6 separate regions of the Homo sapiens genome follow, and regions 2, 3, 4, 5 and 6 are each linked to region 1. Evidence: promoter capture Hi-C in 16 types of primary human blood cells and fetal thymus (Javierre and others, 2016). All regions are on one chromosome and are shown on one strand. Each heading gives the region's core, a stretch centred on a gene start or on the middle of the fragment in contact. The rest is flanking DNA. Distances are from core to core; before and after follow the strand shown.

What was found. Contacts are between HindIII fragments. The CHiCAGO score rates a contact against its expected background, and 5 or more counts as called.
Region 2: a fragment that was not itself captured here is called in contact with the fragment with the promoter of GP5 in region 1 in 6 of 17 cell types (naive B cells, endothelial precursors, naive CD8 T cells and 3 more); the score reaches 7.8 in naive B cells.
Region 3: a fragment that was not itself captured here is called in contact with the fragment with the promoter of GP5 in region 1 in 3 of 17 cell types (endothelial precursors, M2 macrophages and M1 macrophages); the score reaches 7.8 in endothelial precursors.
Region 4: a contact is called between a fragment that was not itself captured here and the fragment with the promoter of GP5 in region 1, in 2 of 17 cell types (M0 macrophages and M2 macrophages). The highest score is 5.7, in M0 macrophages.
Region 5: a fragment that was not itself captured here is called in contact with the fragment with the promoter of GP5 in region 1 in 2 of 17 cell types (M0 macrophages and endothelial precursors); the score reaches 6.2 in M0 macrophages.
Region 6: a contact is called between a fragment that was not itself captured here and the fragment with the promoter of GP5 in region 1, in 1 of 17 cell types (naive CD4 T cells). The highest score is 5.3, in naive CD4 T cells.

What each region holds. Positions count from the first base shown.
Region 1 is chr3:194,396,785-194,400,735 of GRCh38, forward strand. GP5 (glycoprotein V platelet) reads right to left here and starts at 2,482. Exons shown (of 2, transcript NM_004488.2): 1 at 2,454-2,482; 2 at 1-1,500. The coding sequence starts at 1,498. RefSeq lists a silencer at 383-432 and enhancers at 3,312-3,865, 3,866-3,951. The HindIII fragment of the contact is 7,722 bases long and covers 1-3,951 here.
Region 2 is chr3:193,678,694-193,682,685 of GRCh38, forward strand. All of the region lies in intron 29 of OPA1 (OPA1 mitochondrial dynamin like GTPase), which reads left to right. All of the region lies in intron 1 of LOC102724808 (a long non-coding RNA gene), which reads right to left. Among named protein-coding and RNA genes, the nearest start is that of OPA1-AS1, 53 kb to the left of the region's middle. RefSeq lists a silencer at 1,633-1,833. The HindIII fragment of the contact is 1,717 bases long and covers 1,601-3,317 here.
Region 3 is chr3:193,726,137-193,730,580 of GRCh38, forward strand. No RefSeq gene overlaps it. Among named protein-coding and RNA genes, the nearest start is that of OPA1-AS1, 100 kb to the left of the region's middle. The HindIII fragment of the contact is 1,448 bases long and covers 692-2,139 here.
Region 4 is chr3:193,698,447-193,702,722 of GRCh38, forward strand. No RefSeq gene overlaps it. Among named protein-coding and RNA genes, the nearest start is that of OPA1-AS1, 73 kb to the left of the region's middle. RefSeq lists an enhancer at 3,686-3,745. The HindIII fragment of the contact is 4,711 bases long and covers 1-4,151 here.
Region 5 is chr3:193,756,570-193,760,903 of GRCh38, forward strand. No RefSeq gene overlaps it. Among named protein-coding and RNA genes, the nearest start is that of LINC02038, 85 kb to the right of the region's middle. The HindIII fragment of the contact is 1,329 bases long and covers 810-2,138 here.
Region 6 is chr3:193,634,783-193,637,299 of GRCh38, forward strand. It overlaps OPA1 (OPA1 mitochondrial dynamin like GTPase), which reads left to right. Exons shown (of 31, transcript NM_130837.3): 9 at 636-740; 10 at 2,413-2,499. Among named protein-coding and RNA genes, the nearest start is that of OPA1-AS1, 8.7 kb to the left of the region's middle. The HindIII fragment of the contact is 1,071 bases long and covers 733-1,803 here.

The sequences.
Region 1 (3,951 bases), core at 1,232-3,731:
TGTTGGGAGCCAAGGCTGGGTGGACAGGGGCTTCCGAGGAGCTGTCCGCAGCGGGGCGGGGAGGCGGGCCCCGGGGGCCCGGGCACTCCGCGTCACCCCCCGGCAGGGCCCAGAGCGGCAGGCCGGCGTGCGCCCCAGGGCCTGCGCACCGTGGGGGCTCTTCCCCGCCCACGAGGCCTAGGTGCTGCCGCAGCCACCCCAGGAAGGGCCCCAGGCCACAGTCGCAGCGCCAGGAGTTGTGCCCCAACAGGACCTCCGTCAGCCGGGGCAGAGCCCCAAACACGTCGCCAGGCAGGGTCTCCAGCTGGTTGTGGTCGAGCTGGACGCTCTCCAGGCTGCTGAGATTGCGGAAGAGGGCACGGGGCAGGGCGCGCAGCCTGTTGCGGCGCAGGGACACCTGGCGCAGCTTGCCGAGGCCGCGCAGCAAGCCGTCGGGGAGGGCGGTCAGGCCGTTGGAGTGCAGGGCGAGCACCTGGAGCTCGCCAAGGCCCTGGAAGGCGCCCTGCGGAAGCGCGCTCAGCCGCGGGCTCAGAGTCACCCCTAAGTACCGCAGGCGGCTCAGGTTGCGGAAGGCGGCGGCGGGCAGGGTGCGCAGCTGGGTGCGGTTCAGCCACAGCTCCTGCAGGCCCCCCATCTCCCCGAAGAGCACCCCCGGGAGCTCTGCCAGCGGGTTCTCGAACAGAGTCAACAGAGTCAGATTGTGCGAATGAAGAAAGAGCGCAGAGGGGAGAAACGCAAGGTGGTTTCTCGAAAGCGTCAAAGAACTGAGGTTTGGGAGCCGGTCGAAGGCCCCGGGTGCGATGGAACGGATGTGATTTCGGTGGAACTGCAGCTCCGTCAGGGCGCCCAGGCTGTTCAACAGCCCCGAATCCAGAGACACAAGGCGGTTCGAGTGGAGCAGAAGTCTCTCGAGCTTAGCCTGTGCTCCAAGCAACCCCTTGGGCAGGTGGGTCAGGTTGTTTCCCGATAAATCCAACAACTTCAGGTTCTCCAGATTCGTGAAGAGACTGGCAGGAAGGAAATCGAGCTGATTCTGGTTCAGAGCGAGCTCCTGCAGGTTAACCAGTTTCTGAAACATGTTTTGGTCAATGCCCCTTAGCGCATTGTGGTCCAAAAACAACTGCTCCAGGAGCACCATCTTATCCAGCAGCGCACCTGGAAGATGCGTGATTTTGTTGCGCGACAGCCTCAGGGTTTTCAGTTTTATCAGGTCACTGAAGGTGCCGGGGGCAACGGCGGAAATGTGGCTGTCGGAGATCATGAGGCGCTGCAGGACGGTCATGCCGCTGAAGCTCTGGCTCTGCAGGACGCCGCGGCCCATTCCGAAGAGCAGGATGTGCGTGAGGTTGGTGGGCAGGCCTAGCGCGGAGATGCGCGCCACGTCGCCCCCCGAGCACTGCGCGGCGTCCCGGAAGACACACTTGCAAGCTGGCGGACAGGGGAAGGGCTGGGCGCGCAGAAGCCCGAGCACCGCGCACAGTAGAGTCCCCCTCAGCATGTCTGAAAAAGCAACCGTGGGAGTGTGGTCAACACACAGGAGCGTTCGCGCCTGTACTGAACCCTGGGATCCTGCACTTTGTGCAGAGGCACAATCCTTTCGCCAGAATTCTCACTCCCTCTTTTCTTAGGACTACAGATTTCCCTACGTGGTGAAAAGACACTCATTCTACACTGCGTGGCCTCATGCTTTTGCTTTATTGATTTTCCACTCTCAGTTTAAAGCATTGAGATTACAGAGTTTTCAAGCTACCGAATAGCCAATACTTTAAAGTCCTTACATAGAGAATTAAAATAATCATTCTCACATTCAAGCTCACAGACATCACAAAGCAATGTCCATTGTGAAAACGGCTCTGCTCTTGACTTTATAACTTACCCTGCATTGGCTATAACCAACAGTCAAGAAGGGAACAGCAAAGTCTGCAGCCACCACCATCTGATTCTTTTGCTCACAATCATGCTATTTCCACAGTACCAAGTTACTCTATTAAAGGACACCCCCAAAACAGCGAACACCTTCAATCAACAGCCAACAAAAGCATATAATAATACCTATCACTTTACGCCATGCATTGTTCTCAGCTCTTTATTTATACTACATGCATTTAATCCTTACAATAACCTTAGGAGGTAAGTATATTATCCCCGATTCAAGGATGAAGGCACAGAGGCACAGAAAGGCTCAACAGTATAACTAGGGTCACATAGAATTTGAGGGTAGTATTTCTGACTTAGCCATAAAGAGCTACTATTTCTAAGATGCTTAACTAAAGGTAATACTCACGGCACTGAATTTTCTGGGAAATGCACACCATACTACTAACCTGCCAAAACAATGTTTCCTAAGCGAAATTTTACATAAATTGCTTCTCGTGCAATTTTACTTCTCATGCACACACAGACTAAAGAGCCCTCTAATTTCCTATACTAATGTTTAAAATATTTGGCCTTACCTGAAATGGTTCTGCACTCCAAAGTAACTGAAAGACTTAGAGCTCTGCATGTGATTCGACACTTTCCACAGGAAGAGGGTGGTATCCTTGCATCCTGAGGATAAAGACTTTACCAGAGTAGGTCAGGAAAGGACCCTATCTCAGAGCCCTTGTTCTGGTTTTTAATGACAAATATCTTCAAACCGAGAGACCATATATAACCTGATTCCTACTGTCAAAGCCAAGAGCAGTGGGGAGAGTTTTTCCATAAATGGCACAATATAACTCTATGATGCCAGGGAAGTTCAGTGATACAGCTGGATCACTGCAGTAGCCACACCCCTAGATGGGCCACACTTCCCCTGGGTCTTCCTTTTCATGCCACATGGCCCTAATTTCCCACCCAGGTTTTTTTTTTTTTTTTTTTTTTTTTTTTTTTTTTTTTTGGTATGTGTTGTTTTTCTTTCTCCGCTTAGCAATAAAGCTAAGAACATTCTCAAATCCTCCATTTTTTTCTTCCTTTTGGGACTAATAAGGCTAAGAACATCTTTGAACTTGTTCAACAATGGCATTGCTAGGTTGCAGGATGCTCACTTGTTGTTTTTTTGGTGGGGGAGGGGGACTCTGTCGCCCAGGCTGGGGTGCAGTGGTGCGATCTCGGCTCACTGCAACCTCCTGCTCCCTGGTTCAAGCAATTCTCCTGCCTCGGCCTCACAAGTAGCTGGGATTACAGGCACACACCATCACGCCCAGCTAATTTTTTGTATTTTAGTAGAGACGGGGTTTTACCGTGTTGCCCTGGCTGGTCTTGAACTCCTGAGCTCAGGCAATCCGCCCGCCTCGGCCTCCCAAACTGCTGGGATTACAGGCATGAGCCACCACGCCCGGCCGCTCACATGTTCAGTTTAACTGGGGAAAGTCAAACTGCTCTCCAAAGTGGTTGTGTTGGTCTACGATGACACCTGCCATTTGTGAGAGTTCCTGTGCTTCCTCTCTGCCCACACGTGGCACTTCCTGCTTTTTGCCATTTCTATGAAAGATATCTCAGCATGATTTTAACTTTTCCTTTCCCTGTTTAATGATGAACTTGAACACCTTTTCACATAATTAAGGCCCACTTGTGCTTCATTTGAGAAAGCTGGGTTTCCTTTTGCCCATTTGTCTATAGGCAAAACGTGTCTACGTGTCTTTTGAACACACTGATAATGCTGTCTGCATTAAGACTTCCGGCCAGCCGCCCTGTCCGGGAGGGAGGTGGGGGGGTCAGCCCCCCGCCCGGCCGGCCGCCCCATCCGGGAGGTGAGGGGCGCCTCTGCCCGGCCGCCCCTACTGGGAAGTGAGGACCCCTCTGCCCGGCCAGCCGCCCCATCCGGGAGGTGGGGGGCGCTTCTGCCCGGCCGCCCCTACTGGGAAGTGAGGAGCCCCTCTGCCCGGCCACGACCCCGTCTGGGAGGTGTGCCTAGCGGCTCATTGGGGATGGGCCATGATGACAATGGCAGTTTTGTGGAATAGAAAGGCG
Region 2 (3,992 bases), core at 1,209-3,708, 720 kb before region 1:
GGAAGCCATATTGTAGCATAGCATGTACTGAAAATCACTCTCCTTTGAACAGTAATCCCATACCTGTATTTGGGACCTGGCCTTCCTTTGTGTGCTTGTGTATTCATTATATCCCCTTTCTCTCTTCAAAGATGCTCAAGTCATTCTCATCTTAAAACTAATGGGTTGAACCTTCCATGCAGTCTAGTAGCTACTGTGAACTCTAATCTCTATTACAAAGGTTAGCTCTTTGAGTCTCACTTCTACTGAAGTTGTTTTTTTTTCCCAAGATTACTGAAAATTTAAGAGAAAATAATGGCCCAGGCATGCATTCAGGACTAGAAAATACTTCCATGTACAGAAAACCAAACACCACATGTTCTCACTCATAAGTGGGAATTGAACATTGAGAACACATGGACACAGGGAGGGGAACAGCATACGCCAGGGCCTGTTGGGGCGTGGGGGGCGAGGGGAGGGAACTTAGAGGACTTAAGTGCAGCAGACCACCATGGCACACGTATACCTGTGTAGCCTGCACATTCTGCACATAGAGCCCGCTTTTGTTTTTGTTTTTGTTTTTAAGAAGAAATAACGGGGAAAAAAAAGGTTTCAAAACTCATAAAGAAAGAGAAAGAGAGGGAGGGAGGGAGGGAAGAAAATGCTTCCATGTAACTGCATCATTTGGTACTTTGGAGTCCATATCCTACTTGAAACTCTAGGATCTGGCCCTCACATTTATGTAGTGCTTTATTTTACAGTTTACAAAACTTCTGCTTGTCCATGTGTGTCTGTAAAGTCATATGAGGCATTATGCCCATTGTTCAGATAGAGAAATTAACGTTCATTGACATAAATGGTTAAGCCCATTATGTAAATATTTATGGCAAAGCTGGGGCTAATCATATGTGTTACAGATAGGACTTTTTTTAAAGAATTGTTTAGGTATTCTGTTCATCATTAGTCTCTGGGTTTGTGTTTGTGGTAACCATAGACAACCAAGTTCATATAATTTGGCTTCTTTTTTATGTGATTTTTGATACGTGTTAAGGATCTATAACAATGAATTTGCCTCCTAAAGAGGTACATAATGTTTTCATTCCTCCAAAAAGATAATTCTAGGTTTATAAATCTATGTATGCTCAGTGCCAGTTGAATTTTGTGATTGTTCAATAGAAAAGAAATTGTGACTTAAAGGTGATTTTCCAGTTTAATGGAATAAATGAAATTAGTTTAGAAGTTATTTTTATTTTTCTGAGCCTGATTCTCACTCAGTTGTGATAAACAGCACCTCTGTAAGATAAACTCGGTGATAAACCGAGAACTTCTGAAATCAGCCTAACATGAATACCTGTTCTTCTTGTGCTAAGTTTCATAATGCTTTATCCTAATACACCATTTTTTTAAGAAATGGAACTTGTATTTCATTTTTGCTTTCATCTCACCTAATTCATAATTTTATTAAAACCTACGATTTTTAATTTCTTTTTTTATGAATTTTTAGTTTGGTGTATAAATCAGAATTACATTCTCTGATCTTTTACTTTTAAAATTACAGTGATGAACTGACTGTTTAAGAATCATTCTCATGATTCATTCGTCTGTTATGCCTCCTTTTTAAAGCTTCAGCACTGAAGGTCTTTTGACAAACCAATATTTATAACAGTTTGACAGCAGGATGAGGAACAGCGTTTGTCTTTGTAACAGCTTGAAGAAAGACCCTTTCCAGGACCCAGTCATGCAGTTACAATCTTGACCTCTTTCTTATGCTGGGAACATGCATACAGCAGCACCTCCCATGTGTTTTCTTGTCCCATTGACTGTCCATTCACTTCCCATCTGTTTTGCAGTCTTAAAGGAACAGAAGGGGCCTTCTTATAAATCTGTCTTTGCAGGTGATAAATGATGCCTACCTCTTTAAGAGCTGCCTGGGTGGTTTTCCTTTTCTTAGAACATTTCTGCTTTCCTCCTAACTAAATCAGGGAAAAATACAATTTTAGGAATAAGAGAAAAAGAAGAAAAGATGAATTTTTAAAGCATTTAATTGACTAAGAATATTTTACTGATCTTTTTTAATCTTCCCAATTAATTGCCTAAATCATATTTTTTAAAATGTATTATCGATATTTAGATTTTTGTCAGGGAGTAAAATGAATGTATTCATTTTGAAATAATGTAACTCTTTTTTGAGAAAACAAAGCCATGTATCATTAATGAGTTAACATATAAAATAACTTTTTAAGTTTTTTGTGATAATTTAAGTGTGGAGCATCTTATGTATTGGATACAAAAGTAAAATATTTCAGAGTAAATCATTGTAATCTTATGGTAAAATCTATTCATTTTTTACATTTAAAAAGATGATCATAAATCCCATAAACATTTATGCTTTTACTTCTGTTGCTGAAAATAAGTATTGTAGGAATAGATATTGATATCATTGGGTTTTCTAAGAATTCAGCAGAAATAAAAATAATTTACTTTTTCTCCCATGCAGAAATTATTTATGCAAGGTTTTATGTAACAAATATTGTCCCTCTATGGCCCTGCAGAATATTCTTAAATTACTGATTTAAAAACTATTACCAGTATAAAATGACCACTTTTAGAATATTGTGGTGTATTATGTGAATCAGCTGGCTAATAATATATCTTCTGTGGACTAGCTTGTTAGTTTGTTTATTAATTCCCTGGCATATTCCAAAAGGAATTTGAGGCAGCTTACATATATCCTACGCAAAAGATAAAACTACTTAAGTGAAAAATTTGGGTTGAAAGAAAAGGAAAATCCAGGCAAGTGAAATAAAGTAAACTTTCAGATAAAATTGGTGCCCCTCAAAGTGCATGCTCAAGGGTTCTACGTACAGGCAGACCTCATTGTATTGCATGTCACTTTATTGCACTTCACAGTTATTGCATTTTTAACAATAGAAGTTTTGTGGCAACCCTGCATTGAACAAGCCTGTTGGCACTATTTTCCCAACAGCCATGTGCTCACCTCATGTCACTGTCACATTTTGGTAATTCTTGCAATATTTCAAATTTTTCCATTATTATTCTGTCTGTCATGGTGATCTTTGATGTTTGTATTGTAGCTATTTTGGGTACCACTAACTGTGCCCATATTAGTCAGTGACCTTAATCAGTAAACGTGTGTATTCTGGCTGTTCCACCAACTAGACATTCCCTGTCTCTCTCCTCCTCTTCAGGCCTCCCTATTCCATAGGACACAACAATATTGAAATTTGGCCAGCTAATAACCCTACAATGGCCTCTACATGTTCAAGTGAAAGAAAGAGTGCCATATTTCACTTTAAATCAACAACTAGAAATGATTAAGCTTAGTAAAGGAGGTTTGTTGAAAGCCAAAATGGGCTATTAGCCAAATTGTGAATGCAAAAGAAAAGTTCTTGAAGGAAATTAAAAGTGTTATTCCAGTGAACACACGAATGATAAAGCAGAACAGCCTTATTGCCTGAGACGCAGGAAGTTTCACTGGTCTGGATAGAAGATCAAACCAGCCATAACATTCCCTTAAGCTAAAACCTAATCCAGAGCAAGTTCCTAACTCTATTCAATTCTCCGAAAGCTGAGAGGTGAGGAAGCTGCAGAATAAAATTTGAAGCTAGCAAAGTTTGGTTCATAAGGTTTAAGAGGAAAAAAGCCATTCTGCAACATGAAAGTGCAAGGTGCTGATGTAGCAGCTGCAGCAAGTTATCAAGAATATCTAACTAAGATAATTGATGAAGGTGATTATACTAAACAACAGATTCTTGATGCAGATGAAGTAGCTGTCTATTGGAAGACGATGCCATCTAGTAATTTAATAGCTAGAGAGAAGTCAATGCCCAGCTTCGAGGCTTCGAAAGAGAGGCTATCCCCTCATTTTGGGTGCCAATGCAGCAGGTGCCTTTAAGTTGAAGCCAACCTAAAGAATTTACCATTCTGAAAATCCTAGGGCCCTTAAGGATTATGCTAAGTCTATCCTGCTTGTTTTCTAAAAGTGGAACAAA
Region 3 (4,444 bases), core at 166-2,665, 670 kb before region 1:
AGGCGGAGGTGGGCAGATGGCTTGAGCTCAGGAGTTCGAGACCAGCCTGGGCAATATGGCAAAACACTATCTCTACAAAAAAATACAAAAAAAGAAATTAGCCAGATGTGGTGGTGCAGGCCTGTAGTCTCAGCTACTGGGGAGGCTGAGGTGGGATGATCACTTGACCCTGGGAGGCTGAGGCTGCAGTGAACCAAGATCACACCACTGCACTTCAGCCTGGGTGACAAAGTGACAACCTGTCTTTAAAAGAAAAAGAAAAAGAAAAAGAAAGTGGACCACTGAGACATGTAACAACATGGGTGAATCTCAAAATGATTATGCTAAGTAAAAGAAGCCACATTTTTTTTTAAAAGAGTACATACTATATGGTTCTAGGAACCATACATTGTAGGAAGTGCAAGCTGATAAATGGCGATAGTAGATCCGTGGTTGCCTGAATACAGGATGAAGGTATTACGGGGACACGAGACAAATTTGGGGGCGACAGATATGTTCATTGTCTTGTTTGTGATGATAGTTTCACAGATGCGGGAACTTATTAATTGTATGCTTTAAATATGTATAGTACGTTGTACATCAGTTATACTTCCGTAAAGAAAAAAATATGAAAATTTGGGCATCTATGTTGTACAGATATAGATTCAATTCCCATATTTAAGTCCCAGCGTCACCACTTATATTCTATATAAGCTTAGACAAGTCACTCAATCCCTCTGAATCTCAGCAGTCTCGTCTGTAAAATGAAGATGATAATATTCCTATCTTCCTTGGAAGATTATTATGAACACAGAACAAAATAATATTTATATAATGCTTAATAGCATGCTTAGGACATAGTATGTGCTTAACAAAAATTATTATTAAAGTGCTTCCCACTGCACCTGATATTAGCTTAATGCTCAGTAACGTTTTACCCCATCTCCACCCTTACTTTCCCTACTAAACTTGATGTGTGTGGTCACAAAACAGTCTGGCACTCTAGACAAAGAGGGGTCATTAGCTGCATCAGGCAGAAAAAGCCAGCTTCTGAGTGAGGCAATTCGACTGGGTCTAGATCTCCCATCTCGTCCCTGGGTGGGTGTGGCTGATGTTGGCCCCACGAGGTGAGGGCTGTAGGCAGTGCTCTTTGAGCATGGTGACTCGGCCTAAGAAGTGGCTGGCATGGTGGAGGCTAGACTCCTCCCTTTCTCCTGGACCCTCATGGAACTTTCCACGTCCACAAGTGCAGCCGTGCAGTTTGTAAGCCCCAGCTCTCCCTCCAGGGTGGAGCAAACACTTTGGAGGGTGACCCTATTGTCCAGGAGATTTCTTTGGCCACAAAAGCCCTGCTGAAGTCTCCACATCCCTGAAACAAAACTAAGACTAGAACTTTCATGAAAGAACAAGGCCCTGCTCTGTGTGGCCGCAGCAGCTGAAACTTTAGCAGCAGTGGCGGAGACAGCAACCCCACCGCTAACTTATTCTGGCAACAAAGACGCCCCCCTTTCAGTTAACCTTTCACTTCCTCTGACTTCCTTGACAAAGGGTTAGAGTTTGGAAGCAGGTAGAGCTGAGAGGTGTGGTTGGGATGGGGGTGGCGGCTGGGAGTCGTGAGCAGGTTTCAGGTGCATTAGAAATAAAGGGAGTTTGTTCAGCTTTTTATGGAAGGTTTCCTCATTTGCCTGGTGGCAGGTGATGATGCTGGTGTTAAGTATCAGACCTGGCTTTACAAACGAGCCCTGGTGGGAGGAGAGCTGAGCTCTGAAGGCCACACCTCGTCTGAAGGGTGTCTGCAGGCATTCTCGGCAGTCTGGGATTTGGGGACTTTTGGAAGGAAGGTGGCTTACATACCCCTAGGATTCCCAAACATATTGCCAGGACCCATTTTAACCTCACACCAAGCCTGTGTGTGAGTTTCATATTATTTCCATTTTTCAGATAAGACAACGAAGGCTCAAAATGTGTTTGAGCTTGGAGTCAGAAAAATGTTGTTTCATTCACTCATTCAACAAAACTGAAAATTGCACAGTGTGGGCAAAGGTATGCGGGTAAGGTAGAGAACACACCCAGGCCCATCCTCGAGGGCCTCACTGTGGTGTGACTACATCCATCATGCCTTGTTGAGTGGCCTTGGGAAAGTTACAAACCTTTTTTTTAAGCTTCAGTTTTAAGACCTCTGGAAAAAAATGGGATTATAAACCTTTACTCAAAAGATTTCCATAAAGAGAAGTTGAGTTAAATAAGATAATATCTGTCACATCTCCAGAGTCTGGCACAGAGTAGACACTCCAGAAATTTGGCCTTGATGACTATCAGTGATGAGGAGGATGGGGGTCCAGGTAACCCAGTGTTCCCATTGGGCCTGCATTATATGGGAAGAGCCACGGCAGAGCCAGGGAATCTCCTGGAGCTGCATCCATCCTGAAACCAGGGAAAAATCCAGGGATCTCATAATCCAAAATTGAGTTCCCTCCCAAACAAGGAGTAGCTTTGGCTAAGGGCTTTTATTTTGAAAGTGGAGTGTAAATTTGAGTCACTCTCATTCATTCAACACGTATTTCTTAGCACCTGCATTGGGGTATAATGTTGCTGTGTTATGTACAGTCCAGGATGGGGGACAAGCTTCAAGCTGCTATGATGCGTGCACTGACAAGCGTACCCTGGGATAACAGAGGAGGCATCTGGTCCAGCCTTGGTGTGGTGGGTGCTGCTCCCTCTCCATCCCGCACCCTCATCCCAGGCAGTCAGTCACCTGCAAAGGCTGCTTCCTGCAGCATGGCTGTGAGCCTGCCCTCTGTTCACTGTTGCCACAGCCCAGTCCACAGCCCCACTGAGTGACTACAGTCACCTGCCCATGGGCTGCTCTGTCCCCAGCGTCTCCCTTCCTCACTGAGTGCACCCGGCCATGCTTCCTGAACTCAAAGATCTCAACACCTCACTTCTTTGCTCAAAATCTTCAAAAGCTCCACTTACATGTGGGAGGCCTCTGCAGTACAGCCCAGTCTTCCAGTTTCCAAACCGACCTCCTACTTGTGGCCTGCACTCATCCCCTGCACCATATCCCCTTGACTTCAGGAAAACCAGTTGCCACTTCATATGCAGACTTGCACTGCTCACCTTCCGAATGTCCTTCCCACCTACCCCATGGAGCCCCAGCCCCACTTCTTGCACGAGGAAGACCATAATTATATATACTTTAAAAAATCAGTCTTACTCTGTGAATCGTCAACTCAGTTTCCAACTATTGACAGTAATGACTTAAGGAATGGCACTTCCCAGCCCAGGGGTACTTGCTTAGCAATCGTTGATTCCATATGTTTACAAACTGTTCTTCACAGACATTCGGACCTCAACTCACTCAGGACAGAGGGCAGGGTGGTGTCATTATTATCATTCCCATTTTACAGATAAGGAAATAGTACTAAAGGAGTAAAGTGACAAATCCAAATGAATAAATGACCCAGGTGAAATGCAGATGTAAGACCTGCCTGTTCACATCCCATGTCCCTCCCCTCCCCACCAACACATACACAACTTTAAGATCAAATGAGCTATTTTTTATTGAGGAGATTCATGTGACAAATACATATTTGTTGAACAAAGTGGTAGAGGAAACTTCCAGTCAGCATGGCCAATGTCCTGGTGGATGCAGGGGTGGCAGCTAGCCAGAGACTCAGCCTGCCTTCACCTGCCCAGAGACTCAGCCTCACATGCTATGCCCTGCAGTTCAACTCAGGGAATTGTACCAACAGGCCAGTGATTGTAGGGGAGGCAGGGGAACCCCAGACACCATCCCTGGCCTCAAGGAGCAATTTAGTGTATTTGCCAGATTTGCAAAACACTTATGCTAAAAGCTAAGGTACAAAAGATGATATAGACAGATATTCACAAGGGCTATGGGGATGCAGGGGTTACCATCAGAGCCATTGGGGACAGAATCCAAAGGTGCTCTGTGGAGGCATTGGGATTTGAGAGATCCTGAGGGAGGGAGCCATGGATTCGTGGAAAGGGAACAGAATGAGCAAAGGAAAGAACACGCTGCTCTGGGAAGAGGATAGATGGAAGTGGAGGGAGAAATGGGAAGGGCTTCTCATTCCAGAGAATTCCCTTGCTCTTCTTCCGCTTATCTGAATTCCTCTCTTTCTTTACCAACTGGGGCTGAGGCCTATTTATTTGATACTATAGCTTCAGATTTAAGAGATGCATCTTTTATTAAGTTCCATGCTCTTAATTTGATTATTAGATAAATTGAAAATTTATAATTTTTTAAAACAGAAAATACTAGATTATGCCAAATGTACCTGATCTATGATAGATCTTTCATTTAAAAAACAAAATTCCCTTGCTACTGCTATAAACGAACCCAACACTGTGATGAGCTCTCTCTGCAGCCACTGAAAAGGCAGGTGAAGCCAGCAGCCAGCTGCTTCTGCACGCTTTTCGGGTGGGTAGTTGTTTACCC
Region 4 (4,276 bases), core at 546-3,045, 700 kb before region 1:
CAAATACTACAAAAATTGTTAAAGGTTCAAAACCAGGAGACAGTATCAGGAAGGCTTAAATATGGGTGATCTCTAGCTGGAAGAAGACAGCTTCTAAAACTAAGGGTAGGAAAAACCTATATCATAAGGCATTTGTTTAAATTTATATCCTAAAATGACAGAATTGAGCTTGAAAATTGAGAGTATGTATGTGATTCCTCTCCAAGACTTCTCGTGAGTTACGTACATATTCTGCAGAAGCCGCGTTAAGGTGCATTTGTGGCCAAGTCACTGACAAGGAGGTAAATACTACTTATAAATGCTGTTAAATGAAAATCTTTTTTTTTTTTTTTTTTTTTTTTTGAGTTGGAGTCTTGCTCTGTCGCCCAGGCTGGAGTGCAGTGGCGCGATCTCAGCTCACTGCAAGCTCCACCTCCCGGGTTCAGGCCATTCTCCTGCCTCAGCCTCCCGAGTAGCTGGGACTACAGGCACCTGCCACCATGCCTGGCTAATTTTTTGTATTTTTAGTAGAGATGGGGTTTCCCCATGTTAGCCAGGATGGTCTCAATCTCCTGACCTCGTGATCCACCCGCCTCGGCCTCCCAAAGTGCTGGGATCACAGGCGTGATTGTTACTCTTTGTGATAAAAAATTCTTGTTCCTGCTGTTAGTACTTTTAATTCATTAACCCAGGTGTAAACTGTTCCTTTCCAAGTATTTGGGAAATTCAGAGATCTGTTTTTGAAAAAACTAGGCCAGAGGCACCCCTGAAGATCTAGTCACAGTGCAGTGATACTGCCAGCAGCCCCCCACAGAGATATGTCTTACGGCTGTATTAAGAATATAAGTTACACTCTTTAATGTTCAGAACAGAATACTCATTCTGCTGCTTACTCTTGTAGTTATTAAATCACAGAGCAACAATACGGAAGTTAGAATTTTATCCATTTGTCAGAAAATATGCTCATGGTTTATGTGACCTAATACTTTCCAAAAGCTCTTGAGACCTCTGATATTTGTGAGAGAATATGTAGGGAATAGGTTAACCTCCTTTTTTTGCTTTGGTAAACTTCATCTGAGATTAGGCCAAATCATCAGAAAGCAATACTGCCTGGGCTGCTACTTACCTACCTCTTTGATATTACGTCCTTGGCTTCACAGGCAAGACCTTATGACACATCTATTTGAAGAAAATACACAGTCTCTTTTGCAGAAGTCTAACCTAATGACATGTCTTGATTATCACTGAAATTCATTAAGGATTACTAGATAGTACCAGCGGTTTCCCCTCCAGACACATGTATGTACTGCTCTCCTTGTGACAATGAGAACTCAAGACTTTACCATTTTCTTTGCTTCAGCTGCCAGGAAATGCTGAAATTAATTTCCCTCTCAACTGAAGGAATGAACCTAACCATTTTTCTGCTCCTTTAGTTTGTGTTCTATTTTTGTTATTAATCTCTCTTTCCATACATCTTAACGCAGAAACAGCTTTCTGTGTTAGTTTGCGTCACTAAGAAAATACAATGCTTACTTATTTCTCATTTTAAGAAATATATTTGTCTAGAGGGTTTAAGAATTCCCACATGTGCCATAATGCTCCAGGTGGTACACAGCCACTCCCCTTGCATACCTAATGTATATAATTTTTTTCTACAATCAATTCATATATATATATAGTAAAAAAATCAGAAATCACCTCAAGGACACAGTACACACCCAGTGACAATAACATGCCTGCCTCCCCGCTGCCGGGAGCAACACCACAGTAGCAGGAGGTGCCTGATGTGTGTTGAGAGGAAGGATGCAGAGAGATATGTGTAAGTTTGCAGCCATTCCAGAAATATTAACACATCCTAACTAAGGGCCTATTATAAAGGTCTGAGCAGGACTCAGAACACTACAAAGTAGACTAAAACTGGCCAGCAGCATTTTGGGATCCATGGAGAAACTCCACTGAATTCTTTTTGAACGGTCAATATCCTATCTTGCCAAGGATTGGTCCCATGAAACATTTTTGGTTTCCCTTTAAAATTTTGAAACTAAGAAGAAAACTTGAATCCAGAGCAAAGAAACCAGTATACCTTGTGTTTTGCACCCATTATCACAGAAAGTATTGTTTCCATTTTATAGATGAGAAAATCAGCTCAGGTTTTGCACAAGGTTATTCTAGTTGAATAGCAAAGTTGAAACTTGAAAACAAGTATGATTACAAGCCTATGCACTTTCCAAAATATGCTCCCTTTCAGAAATACTTTTCGGAAAGTAAACATTTATGATATTAGGAGCACATTAGGGCACATGATATACCTAGAAAGTACAAAATGACCTAACTCATAACAAAAATGGCCTATGATAGTCTTTACTAATTACATGAGGCTATTGTTGCATTGCAAGAATGGAACTATCAGCAGAGATGTGTGGCTGCCTGTGAGACCTTAGTGGACAAGAAGATGAGATTCAGTAGGTTCTAATTTCATGTTAACGCCAGGCCTTAAGTTTTAGGTGTAAAAAACAAGTGCTTTGCAATTCTCAACATGTTAATAATGTTAATTCTCTCATTTTATCCTGTGCAGATTCTGTCAATCTTTTTTAGTTAGTCCAAGTATTAAAATATGGAATTGCTCTTTCCTCAGTTTTTAAAAACTTGATTGAATATTTTCTTTTTCCAAATTACTATTTTTTTTTTTTTTGAGACAGGGTTTCTCACTGTCCCTCATGCTGGAGTGCAGTGACACAATCACAGCTCACTGCAACCTCGACCTCCTGGGCTCAAGTGATCCTCCCACCTCAACCTCTCGAGTAGGTGGGACTACAGGGACACACCACCATGCCTAGCTAATCTTTTTTTTAATTTTTAGTAGAGATGAGATCTCAATATGTTGCCAAACTGATCTCAAAATTCTGAGTTCAGGCAAGCCTCCTACCTCAGCCTTCCGGAGTGCTGGGATTATAAGCGTGAGCCACCTAGCCTGGCCCAAATTACTACTTTTGAGTGTCTTTCTGCGCCCCACCCCCAATAAAATTATTTTGAAGGAAAAGCTATTAGCAGAATTCTTTAAAATTTCTACTAAACTTATATTCCAGGTATCTCATGTACATTCTTTAATTTTCTTGCCTTGAGATATGTCTGGTTTCCCAAGACTATTAGGACCGAAAGACAGATTTTCATGCCAAAATCTGTATGAGTTATCTTTACCCGTATCAGAACATCTCTAATATGAATGCTTAATTGAACATGCCTGCCATTTGCTGCCTCTGCCATTTCATAGGCTGTTGGTACCATCACAAAGCCACTCCCACTTTCATACATTCAGATTTCTCAAAACATCTGAGACATTCACATTCTTGCTAATTATACTCATTGCTCTGGTCATAGCTGAATCAAGATTCTGAGAGTGTAATTTTGTTCGCGTCAAAAGCATTGTTTTCTTATCCTGTTGGTGGAGTGAGGCATTTGGACCTGGATGCTCTCCCCATTGGGCGCCCCCCGTTGGTACGTTTCGCCAGCTGTGTACTCTATGATTGGCTGGCCTTTTGATGTGCAGGTACTACAAGTTGGTCACAAACTTGTGTACAATGGGCCTGTTCTGGTTCATGTGAAAATCAACATCCTTTTTTGTGTTACCGGGTGACAGGATGCTACAATACTATTAGCATTTGCAAAGAGTGTGCTCTGTCCAAGGGTGTAACCACAGGTCGTGTGCTGCTCACTTTGTGTTTCTCTATTATGTGAGAGACACAAAGAAGCTGAGGGCTCGCAAAGGCCTGTCAAATCTTGTAATGTGGCGCTCGACCCCCAAACTCCACTTGGCCTCCAAGCATCTCTTGTTCCCTGTCCCACCCCTTTCTCTGAATGGGCTCTGAGGTAGGTAAATGAATTCAGGGGCCTGGTAGGCGGGGGATTCCTTTCTGGCCTCATTCCTGTACCATTTGTTTGCAGGCTTGTAGGGGGAGAGGAGGACATTTTGGAATCCTTTGTGTCAAATCATTTTCTTGCAGGTTGGGGAGTTAATGGTAACTTTGTCTGAAGCCAGCCAAGCAGAAAGCCTCCACGGATGAGGCGTGGTATGCTCAACCTCCTCAAAAACCACAAGATGAGAATGTGGAAATGGGGAACTTTCTAGAGCAGATGAGTATGGGACAAGTCTGCATGTGCCACATCTAATGGGAAGCTTAAACCTTCCTGTGTATTTAGGCATACAGTAGTTCATTTTAAGAGGGTTTTCCTCTTTCTGAATCATCATGGTGTTTTTATTGATACCTGTAGTTTGGATAATCTTTTGTGCAGCCAATAT
Region 5 (4,334 bases), core at 224-2,723, 640 kb before region 1:
CATCTAGTAGAATTTTTAATTCTACACATTTTTCTTTGCGGTTTTGGTAATTCTGTTTGGTTCTTTTTTATTGTTTCCATTTCTCTGCTGAGATTTCCTATATTTTTATTTAAATCACTGAATGTGTTAATAACTTTTACATTTGAAGTCTGGTCTGTTAATTCTAACACCTGGAGCATCTCAGGGTCTATTTCTATTGATTGATTTTTTTTTTCTTGAATTTAACTGGGTCACATTTTCCTATATCTTCATGTCTGATAATTTTTTATTGTTTGTTCTCTGACATGGATAATATAGGGAGTCCAGATTTTGTCACCTTCTTTTAAAGGACATTGAATTTTGTTCTTGAAGGCAGTTAAGTGTTTGGAATATAATTTTGGTCCTGTTAGAGTTGTTTCTTTTTCTTTGTGAAAGTGGGCGTATTTTTTTTTATTCCATTTCCCCTCTAATCCCTGCATTGTTGAAGGGATCTATTTTTGTATTGAGCTTAGGTTTAGAGCTGGCCCTTACTATACAGCATGGTTCTTCATCTCAAGGCATAACCTTTTTAGAATCTCAACTGAATCTTCAAAATGTTCTGCTTGGGACAGAAGTCCAACGTCTCTCAGCAAAGCAGGACTTCTGGTTTCTCTGTTCAGCTCCCAGTCCTGCAGCATGTGACCCTTGCTAGGCCTTGTGTATGGGCAGCTGAGTTCTCAGCCACAGACCCACAGTCCATCCCCATGCAGACTTCAGTGGCCTGATTTTCTGTGCAGTATCTTCTTTTCTGATATCCCACCCCACAAATTTCAGCCATGTCTATATCCCAAAGCTTCAATCTCTGCCTCCTTAGCTCTTTTTATTGCAGCAGGAGAATTTCCTTGGGAAAAAAACTGGGGTGACCATGGAACTCACGTCATATAGTTCACTTGTCTCCCAAATCACATTCCCCTATTGCCTATTGCTCCGTGTCTGAAAACATTTGCCTCATGTGTTTTTCCCCATTTGTAGTTGTTTTAAGTGAAGGCAAGTTATGTACCAGTTACTATGTCAGGATCAGACACAGAAATCCCCATGTGTTTTTAATTCTTTGCAAGATTAGTCTTCCTGATGATGCAGAGTGGTAGGATCCAATTTCTCTTAAACCATTGTAATATTCTTTAACAAGACCCCTTTGCTTAAAGCAAGGAAGTCATGTGTCACTCAACCTTGGCTGACTGAATGATTTAACTGAGAAAGTTTATAGGGATTAACTAGAAACTGGCCAACATGTACTATAAAAAAAGAAATGGTTGCTTTATTACTAAACACAATCTTTTCTGACTGCAAACTCCCAAAAAGGGAGATGTTCAGCATTGGGCAGACTTATTCTACTAATTTTCTCTCTTACACCCAGGAAATAAACGTGGTGTTGGACTGCATGGAACCACTGTTTTCCACTATACTCATCACCTTCTGCTGAATCTCTCTTTCTAGGTTAACAGAAAATTGGGCTCCATGTGAAACCTGTAAGCACTGAATGTACTTGCAAAAACCTATCTTAGCATAAGTTGTCACTTTGTCACTGCCCAGTGTAAATTAGTCTCATGTGTTATTCTTGCCTTCAGCTCCCTCTTCTTTTACTTCAGAGCTCTTAAAATTATTTGTAATTACACATATATGTATTGCTCATTTTTAGCCTCTCCCAGTAGATTATAAGCTCTGTGAGGGCAAAAACCTTGTGTGAAGCCCCAGTCTAGCATAGTGACTGATAAATAGGAGGAGCCAAGAATAATTTGTTGAATGAATGATTAAATGAATGAATCCACAAATAAGCAGATCCTTTTGGTATTAGACTAAAATAGATGAAAACAGAAGGCCTTAAAGATTAAAAGAGAAATAAATTAGCTCCTAAATACCCATGGTTTTTATTCTTCAAGGCACAAAGACCTCTTAGCCAGAGATGCCTGTGAGGAGCAACTTTCAATAGGAAACTGAAGAATTGATCACAAGATGTTGCTGTTACTGAGAACTGGCCATGAGAGCATCTGCCCATTCTGTAGGGGCAGTGTATTAGTCCGTTTTCACATGGCTATAGCGATACTACCTGAGACTGGGTAATTTATGAAGAAAAGAGGTTTAATTGACTCACAGTTCTGCATGGATGGGAGGCCTCAGGAAGCTTACAAACATGGTGGAAGGTAAAGGAGAACCAGGCACCTTCTTTACAAGGTGGCAAGAGAGAGAGAAAGAGAGAAAGGGGGGAACCGTCAAACACGTTTTTTTTTTAAGATGGAGTCTCGCTCTGTCGCCAGGTTGGAGTGCAGTAGCCCGATCTCAGCCCACTGCAACATCTGCCTCCCAGGTCCAAGCGATTCTCCTGCCTCAGGCTCCCAAGTAGCTGGGACTAGAGGCACACGCCACCACGCCCAGCTAACAATAATAATTTTTTGTGTTTTTAGTAGAGACGGGGTTTCACCATGTTGGCCAGGATGGTCTTGATCTCTTGACTTCATGATCTGCCTGCCTTGGCCTTCCAAAGTGCTGGGATTACAGGCATGAGCCACCGTGCCCGGCCTGTCAAACACTTTTAAAGCATCAGATTTTGCCCACCAGGTCCCTCCCTTAACATGGGGATTACAATTCCAGATGAGATTTGGGTGGGGACACAGAGCCAAACCGTATCTGGCAGCTATGGTCAAACCAGGCTTTTGTGACACACTAGATTTGGACTCCCCAGTTTGTATCCTATAATTTCTCTCCCAACAGCAGCACATACTAGGAAAGAACTTCCTGCTGTCTATGAGAGGGCTCAGCATGCATGGATTTTAATGACTCCCAGGACACTAAAGGCTCTACATGTGGCCCAGATGACATCTTGTCTTCTCTTGGTTATGGTGGCAAATGAAAACACCAACAAAGGCAGGGTACTCTATTTTTTTTTTTTTAGAGACAGAGTCTCGCTCTGTGTAGTGGCACAATCTCAGCTCACTGCAAGCTCTACCTCCTGGGTTCACCCACCATTCTCCTGCCTCAGCCTCCTGAGTAGCTGGGACTACAGGTGCCTACCACTATGCCCAGCTAATTTTTATATTTTTAGTAGAGACGGGGTTTCACTGTGTTAGCCAAGATGGTCTCGATTTCCCGACCTCGTGATCCGCCTGCCTTGTCCTCCCAAAGTGCTGGGATTATAGGCATGAGCCACCGCGCCCAGCCAAGGGTACTCTTTGACTGAAGGAGCCCTGGACACAGAACACTAAGGACCATTTGGTGAAAACTTCTCATCTTATGTGTGTGGAAGCTTAGTCTAGAGACCAAGGTGGGACAGAATGACCCCTAGATCACATAATGGTAAAAGACATCATGAGGACTAATTTCCAGGACCTCAACCTTCTAGTTCAGGCTGTATTGTTTATTTGTTTCCCTCCCCTTTACCTTTCCATCCATCCAGGCTGGATTTTATCTTGGATCACCTTAAAGAAAGAGCATGACATTTTCTAATCCAGTGTGACAGGACAAAGTCTGAAAAGATGCCTTTCTGTTTTGGCAACACACTCCTAAGTAAGTTTGACATTTCCAGAGAAATGACACCTTGGTCAAAAGTCCAATGACAGTTTGGAATCAGAAAAGACTGTACTGCAGAGTATGGTAGCAAGGAGCAAGCACTAGCTCAGGAATTTAGAGGCCTGGGCACAGCCTGTTTCTGACTATTGTGTCAACAAGGGGAAGTCCTTTCTTTCTCTGCCTCTTAGTTTCAGCATTCATAAAATTAGAGGCTGGAATAGATAAAGGATAGAATCTCTGCCATTCCATTGTACTTACATGTTGTTCTAAACCAGGAGCACGGTTGGAGGAAACGTATACTGCTACTGTATAGATTTGTAGAATCTGTTTCTCTGTATGTTCTCAGAAACAGAAAAGATCCCTATTTCTGAAGAAATACACATACGAACGCCTACATGTGCATCGGAAATAAACAGTCTGAAAAGTCGGTTGATGTGGACATCCTGGAGAAATCTACAAAGCTGCTGCCATCCCAAAGGCCATTTCCTACCACAGGGCAGATGAGCATCAGCTTCCCCAGAAGACCCCTCCAGTGGGGTTTAGGCTATCAGGATTCCAGAAGACCCCTCCAGTGGGGTTTAGGCTATCAGGATTCCAGAAGACCCCTCCAGTGGGGTTTAGGCTATCATCAGGGTTCCACGTCTAGCTTCTCCTCTGATCTGCTGCGAGGCTACCCAGCTCTCTCTCCTGATGGAGATTAATTTACAAGTTAAAAAAATAAAGACGGAAACAAACTATTCACAACTATTGTTTGTATCCTAGGATGAGAGTTGAGGTTGAAGACAAAAATATAAAGTTTAAAAACAATGTTT
Region 6 (2,517 bases), core at 18-2,517, 760 kb before region 1:
CTGACAGCCCTCTATTCAAAACCCTGCTCCTCTACTAAGTGACCTTGGTCAGGCTCTCAGATATTCCTCGCTCTTTATTCCTAGTCTGTGTAATTCCTGCTTTATGGGGTTTTTGTGAAGGCTAAGGGAGTTAATGCGTTTGCACCACTTACTAAGGAGTCTGTCACATAATGCATGCTTGGGTACTGCTAGCTATTATTTTATAGCATCTTAATTAAAATCTAAAATAATGTGAAGAAAGGGAAGAATTTGAATTTTTGTTAAGTGGCCCTGTAATGTGAAGACTTAAAATTTTGATATAATAGGAAATACTCCCTTCTAGAATGTATTTAAGAACTACTTCTTTAAATTCTTACGTTTTCACTATTTCAAAATAATTTTTTCAATGTGAGTAGCAAGGAATTTTCCAAGTGAAATTCTTAATTATGATAGAAAATTACAATGATTTCCACTGTTTGTAAGAGATAATAGTCATTGTTTATTTTATTCCTAATGTTTTCGTAGATGCTTTTAAAATGTAATACATTTTAAATAGGAGATATGACTTCAAGATTTTGGAAGATTTTAATTTAGACTTAATACTATTTGATAACCCATCTTTTGCTTATATAGTTACACTTATTATTTTATTGCAGTTGAAGTATCAGAGAATCTTGGAACGATTAGAAAAGGAGAACAAAGAATTGAGAAAATTAGTATTGCAGAAAGATGACAAAGGCATTCATCATAGAAAGCTTAAGGTATTCTAAGTTTGTCTTGTTTATTCTCAAAATTTTACCGCTTAACGTTGTGTGTTCATCAGTACCAGTTTCTAAGGAGCTGTAAAGTATTCTGTCATCCTTTTCTTTCTAACCTAATGTGCTTGGAGGATGGAGGATCTCTTCCTATATTAAGACATTTTATAAGTTGTAGTCTCCAAATACTTGTTTTATACTATGCCCATAAAATCTTTACACTTTTAAGAGTTATTTCGTGTGAATCAGTTTATTTTTCTGAAATATCTAGTTTATCTCTAGGCTTAACTTTTACATAAAATTTTATATAAAATCAGAATTGTTAATTGATGGACATGTAAGTGACTTATCATCATTGCTTTACTTGTATGCCAGTGAATGATTAGACCACTTTCTTCAGTTTTTAAAAAATTAACACTTTTCTTCTAAGGAGAGCTTTCTTAGGCATTTCAAAGAACTTTCGAAAAAGTGTGTGCTGGTATTGTTACTATCAGCACATTGGTGAACTTATTTACCAATAAATCAAGTCTTACTATTCCCCACCCAACTAAACCACATGTGCTAAATTGAATTGAAACAATTATTTAACTTAAATCTCATATAAGTAAGCAGAGTTTATATGTAGCAAAACTGCAGTAAATCATGGCATGTACATTCTGTAGTCAAGGTCCAAAGATAATACAGTTCTAGCTTAACAAACATGCATTAGTAGCTTTGACTATAAATCATGACTGCATAAAACAGATAACATGACTATTTACAAGTGGCACTTAGAACTGAGAAAAGTCATTTCCAAGTGCTAATATATGTAGAGTTTACCTCAGAAACAGTATTTTCTCTCATAAAATGCAGTGGCAATTAACATTTTTTGTTTATTTTTAGGCTGGTGGGTTGGCAATTGCTTGCCATTTAATTTTTTCTAGGGATTAAGAAATGAAAGGACCCTTAAGCCATCATTTTGCTCCTGCCTTAGCATTAAAACTTATCCATAATTATTAAATGCTTGATGGTACCCCTTTTTTTCAGGCCTGTGTATTTTTTTGTTCATTCATTCATCAAATTTACATGAAGCTTGTTACACGCAATGCAAGGCACCACATTCATTTCTGATTCTACAGCAAGAAACGATACAGGATATTTGCCCTTGCTACACTCATATTTCAGCCTGCCCAGTTGTCAGTGGATACTTAACCACCCTTACTGGTTTAACAGTCTTCCTGGTTTATCCTTTATTCAGATGCTTGCTTGCACGTGCTCTCTGTCCTCTCTCTTTCTCTCTCATGCATGCCTCAAACTTAGCAAAGAATAATTTCATTGTCAGTTGGTTACCTGACCACCTTTTTTTTGCCTTTTTGGTGTTAATGGTCTTTTCTTGCATTCAGTATTAGCTCATCAGTATTAAGTAATAATTTCCATCTTATTTAATTAGAATGTTAGGAAATCCTGAATTAATTTACTTTATTAAATCATTGTATCTAAATAAACTGAATGAGAAATGGACTTTTAATCTGTACCGTTTTAGTTTTTACGATGAAGATGTATTTATGTAATTTGAGAAAACAGTACAATGATTATGGAAAAACAATTTGAATTTATCACTTTTTTCTCTTGACACATCTGTTATATTTTTTTCTTTACTTTTACTGTTTTATATTATAACTTTTTAAAATTTTTACAGAAATCTTTGATTGACATGTATTCTGAAGTTCTTGATGTTCTCTCTGATTATGATGCCAGTTATAATACGCAAGATCATCTGCCACGGGTATGTGAAAAATTGATA